2 separate regions of the Homo sapiens genome follow, and region 1 is linked to region 2. Evidence: promoter capture Hi-C in 16 types of primary human blood cells and fetal thymus (Javierre and others, 2016). All regions are on one chromosome and are shown on one strand. Each heading gives the region's core, a stretch centred on a gene start or on the middle of the fragment in contact. The rest is flanking DNA. Distances are from core to core; before and after follow the strand shown.

What was found. Contacts are between HindIII fragments. The CHiCAGO score rates a contact against its expected background, and 5 or more counts as called.
Region 1: a fragment that was not itself captured here is called in contact with the fragment with the promoter of IGF1 in region 2 in 5 of 17 cell types (endothelial precursors, megakaryocytes, total CD8 T cells and 2 more); the score reaches 17.7 in endothelial precursors.

What each region holds. Positions count from the first base shown.
Region 1 is chr12:102,169,697-102,172,396 of GRCh38, reverse strand. All of the region lies in intron 6 of PARPBP (PARP1 binding protein), which reads right to left. Among named protein-coding and RNA genes, the nearest start is that of PMCH, 27 kb to the left of the region's middle. The HindIII fragment of the contact is 2,310 bases long and covers 290-2,599 here.
Region 2 is chr12:102,479,234-102,481,933 of GRCh38, reverse strand. It overlaps IGF1 (insulin like growth factor 1), which reads left to right and starts at 1,371. Exons shown (of 4, transcript NM_000618.5): 1 at 1,371-1,615. The coding sequence starts at 1,553. It overlaps LINC02456 (long intergenic non-protein coding RNA 2456), which reads right to left. Exons shown (of 13, transcript XR_007063427.1): 11 at 1-2,700. RefSeq lists enhancers at 2,516-2,565, 2,656-2,700. The HindIII fragment of the contact is 6,669 bases long and covers 1-2,114 here.

The sequences.
Region 1 (2,700 bases), core at 195-2,694, 310 kb after region 2:
TACAAAAATGAATAAAATCTTTCTCTTTAAGAGCTCACAAGTGATAATGATACAATGAACTACTGAAAGTATAGACAAGTTTGAGTGGGGAAGTAGAGAGAAGGAGGAGGTATTCAGGAGTGCTTCCCAGAAGATATATTATGGCTATTCTGGATAAACATTAATAGGAGAATTTAGATGAGAAAGAGGCAAACTGAGCTCCTGACTCCTAACTGCATCACACCAGTGCCCTGGGGCAGAAAGAGAAACAAGAGGCTGCTGATGAAAAGCACAACTGAATCCCCAAGCTTGTACCAAAATAAAGTAACTGGAAGAGAACACTAAGCAATAATACAGACAAATGATTGGTAATACTTTAATGTAATTACTGAGTTCTTCACTTTCCTAAATAAAGTGACTGCTTTTCCATACCATACTCAAGAATTTGATAACTATTTGTTGAAGTAAATTTTACCTTTAAAAATTAAATGTAATTAAAGGTGCCACATAAAATATATGAAAAATATTTCTGAATTTTTTTTTTTTTTTGAGGCGGAGTCTCGTTCTGTTGCCCAGGCTGGACAGCAGTGGCGCGATCTCGGCTCACTGCAAGCTCCGCCTCCCGGGTTCACGCCATTCTCCTGCCTCAGCCTCCCGAGTAGCTGGGACTACAGGCGCCCGCCACCACCACACCTGGCTAATTTTTTGTATTTTTAGTAGAGACGGGGTTTCACCGTGTTAGCCAGGATGGTCTCGATCTCCTGACCTCGTGATCCGCCCGCCTCGGCCTCCCAAAGTGTTGAGATTACAGGTGTGAGCCACCAAGCCCGGCCATGAAATATTTTTAAACAAGAAAAACTTTAACATTAGGAGATTAGACTGAAAAATTTCAGTGAGATTTAACACTCCAAACATGTATATTTAGCCCAACATAAATAGTTATGTGCTGTATAATAACATTACAGTCAGCAACAGACCACATATATGATGGTAGTCCCATAATATTATAATGGAGCTGAAAAATTCCTATTGCCTAGTGATGTAACATCGTAGCATCATAGCTCAACACATCACTCACATGTTTGTGGTGATGCTTGTGTAAACAAACCTACTGTGCTGCCAGTAATATAATAGTATAGTGCACATAATTATGTTTAATACATAATACTTGGTCATTATAATAAATGACTCTTACTGGTTTATGTGTTTGCTATACCTTTTATCATTATTTTAGAGTGTACTCCTTCTACTTATTTAAAAAAAAAAAAAGCACTAACTGAAATAGTCTCAGGCAGGTCCTTCAGGAGGTATTCCTGAAGAAGGTGTTGTGACTGTAGGAGATGACACCTCCAGGGGTATTACTGCTCCTGAAGATTTTCCAGTGGGACAAGATGTGGAGGTGGAAGACAGTCATATTGATAATCCTGACCCTGTGTAGACCTAGGCTAATGTTTATGTTTGTGTCTTAATTTTAAACAAAAAAGTTTAAAAAGCAAAAAAAAAAAAAAAAAAGAAAAATTAAACAGAGAAAAGCATATAGAATAAGGATACAGAGAAAAAAATTCTGTACAGCTGTACAATGTATTTGTGTTTTAAGCTAAGTGTTACTACAAGACTCAAAAAGTTTCAAAATTTTAAAAAATTCATAGTCAAATTTTAAAGTTCATAAAGTTAGAGCAAGCTAAGTGTAATTTATTCTTGAAGAAAGAAATATTTGCTCTATAAATTTAGTGTGGCCTAGGTTTATAATGTGTATAAAGTCTACAAGAGTTTACAATAATGTTCCAGGCCTTCATATTCACTCACCACTCATCCAGAGCAACTTCAAGTGCTGCAAACTCCAGTCATGGCAAGTACCCTATGCTTATCTATGTTTATGTTTTATACTGCATTCTGAACAGGACCTTTTCAATGTTTAGATATGCTTAGCCACACAAATACCATTGTGTTACAATTGCCTACAGTATTTGATACAGTAACAGGCCATACAGGTTTGTAGCCTAGCAGCAATAGGCTATGCCATATAGCCTATGTGTGTGGCAGGCTACACCATCCAGGTTTGTGTATGTACAGTCTATGATGTTTGTACAGTGATGAAATTGCCTAACAATGCATTTCTGAGAGCATATTCTCATCAAGTGGCGCATGACAGTATAATGTAAATGTGCATTAAAAAGTTGTGTGATAAATGTGAAATACAGAATTTTCAACTTCTGAACAACAGGGAACTATTAATTGATACAACTTGAAACATCTCATTTAAGACATCTTTCAGGTGAAAGTACACTATGCATTTTATGGTGTCACCTACTGGCAAAGTGTAGAAATGCAGCCACCTATAGCTAAGATGGCCTCATGAAAAGTGGGCAGTGGGGCGATGAGTGTTCTTTATTTCTTCCCAGTCTGTCTATTCCACCCTTCCTTGGACTCAAACATTACTGTAATTTTTCTATTTAAAAATAAGTAGTATAAACTTTTCCTCAGATACAAGAGCTAAATACATTTTTATTTCTAAGTTTTAAGGTTGACAGAGACGAGGAGGATAAAGAGGTCAGAGTGAGAGATGGGCAGGAGTTAGAGCATAGACAGTTTTGTGTATCATATTGAGGTTCCTGAAGCTTTACCCTGTACCAAATATGGAATCACTGAAAAGTTTTAATTATGGGAGTAACATTTGTTGTTTCAGAAAAATCACTCTGGCAGCAATGAGGACGACAGGAT
Region 2 (2,700 bases), core at 122-2,621:
AACAAAGCAGGTTTGTTTGTTTTTTGTTAGGGCACCCACTTCTACAAACAAATTTCTGGCCCCAGGATAACACAAAGAGCCAGAGTAGGATTTCAAGCAGAACTGTGTTTTCAGTTGATGTGTCAGTCCCCTGAGAGTCATGTGGAAAAAAAAAAAAAGAAAAAATTCAAGGTCCAGGTTATTTCCACCACTCCTGGGAAACCAGGCCTGGAGAGCTCTCTAGGGAAAGAGGTATGTCTGCTCTGGGCTTTTGCAACCTTATTTTATAATTCACTTTCTTATCTACTGCTTCACAAAACCAAAGGGAAATAGGTACAAACTGTATCGACAAAAGATCAGAACTGAATTCTCAATGGCAAAGGCAAGTGTACATTATAAATAGCAAAACAGCTGGCTTGGACCATGTTGCCGGCCAGTCACCCAGTTGAGGGATTTGAATGACATCATAACCCTCGAGAGGGTATTGCTAGCCAGCTGGTGTTATTTAGAATACACAAAAATCAGAGAAAGAAAACACACTCTGGCACACAGACTCCCTCTGTCATACACACACACACACACACACACACACACACACACACACACAGGTTTGAGTTATATGGAAAATTCAAACAACAGGAAAATTGTTTGCCCCCCAGGTACCCTTCTCCCAGAGTGGTGGGGTGGGGAGGGGACAGTGACAGGCAGCCTAGTAGAAGAATAAAGAAAAATGTTCTATTTCAGTTGGGTTTTACAGCTCGGCATAGTCTTTGCCTCATCGCAGGAGAAAAAGTATGAGACAGTGCCCTAAAGGGACCAATCCAATGCTGCCTGCCCCTCCATAGGTTCTAGGAAATGAGATCACACCTCTCACTTGGCAACTGGGACAAGGGGTCACCCGAGTGCTGTCTTCCAATCTACTTTACCCCAGTCACTTCAGGGTTAAAATTGTAGAGTTTGCTGGAGAGGGTCTTATCGTCCTTTCTTTCTTTTTTTGTTTTAAATAATGCATTTGCTCTAGAATCTAAAATTGCTCTCCCATCCCCCATATTCCTTTAATACTGGTAAGGTGTATTAGCAGACGTTTGTGTCTTCATGCCCAGCAGAAAGTTAATCAGAAAACAGATCCTTATTTTCTATGGCAGCATAAGTATTTTAATGTCTGCGAACCCTGTCACTAACACACATTCTTTTAAGGGAAAAAAATGCTTCTGTGCTCTAGTTTTAAAATGCAAAGGTATGATGTTATTTGTCACCATGCCCAAAAAAGTCCTTACTCAATAACTTTGCCAGAAGAGGGAGAGAGAGAGAAGGCAAATGTTCCCCCAGCTGTTTCCTGTCTACAGTGTCTGTGTTTTGTAGATAAATGTGAGGATTTTCTCTAAATCCCTCTTCTGTTTGCTAAATCTCACTGTCACTGCTAAATTCAGAGCAGATAGAGCCTGCGCAATGGAATAAAGTCCTCAAAATTGAAATGTGACATTGCTCTCAACATCTCCCATCTCTCTGGATTTCTTTTTGCTTCATTATTCCTGCTAACCAATTCATTTTCAGACTTTGTACTTCAGAAGCAATGGGAAAAATCAGCAGTCTTCCAACCCAATTATTTAAGTGCTGCTTTTGTGATTTCTTGAAGGTAAATATTTCTTACTCTTTGAAGTCATTGGGGAATTCTATTTAAATTGTGTACTGTTTGCTTCTGCCTAGAACTGTTCTTCACTTTAAAATTTTCATTGTTTCGGAACCGAGAGTTATTTATAAATTGCTGAATATGCAATTCTGTGGAATCTGAAAAATAGCTCGGGGAGATGGATGCATTTGCACAGATATCTGTATGAGTAGAAACTATTGCAAGGTACTTATGCTAAATCCTCCACTTCTGCAGGGCTTCCGTGGTGTCATTACAGAAGATTCCTTTAAATCCTCTCTATGGCTAAGGGCTATAGAGCATGGATATGAACTTGGGGATTTTTTTTTTCTTTTGCAGGTGCAGATGTTTTATTTTTAAGACCATGTTCTTTTGCATGTGTGTATGTGTCTCTGTGTGTATGTGTCTCTGTGTGTGTAACTCATCAGGACTTTATTTACAAGGCATGCTATATATGAAGGGTTGTATTTTAGATGATATTAAAGCTTTTAAATATGATCTTTGGAGCTAAGGTCCCGGAACTCTGCACTTATGCCCAGAGAGAGTGTTAAAGTTAGAGTAAAGTGTAATTTGTTCTTCCAAAAAAGAACTCCTTGACAACTCTTGCTGACCTTGCATATTTGTATAATTTAAACAAATACATACTGTATATGGAAAGCAGAAACTTTCTAAGAGCTGCTTGCCCAACTTTTCTGTTTAGAAGAGGACTTTCATGGGCAAAGTTTGGACTTGGGGTTCTGTGTTATAAAACTCTGATTTTATATTCAGTGTCGTGAAGTCCCTTTAGGTAAATCTGGCTGCTGCTGTCAGTGCACCGACTTCTCGTTTCCGATTGCTGGCCGTAGTTCTAGTTTCCATTCTCAGCAAAATTATATCCTTCAAGACTTGTGTTTTTTTTTCAATTTGCAAGCGCTTTTAAGCTGCTGTCACTGGCTCCACCGATTCAATTGCCTGAGGGCTCAATTCATAAGACGTCTCTGCCACTTAGTGCAGCATTCAGTTGCTGCTTTCAAACACTTCACCACTACGACTTTCCCTAGTCAAGTAAGTGGCTCCAGGAGTTAAAGATACAC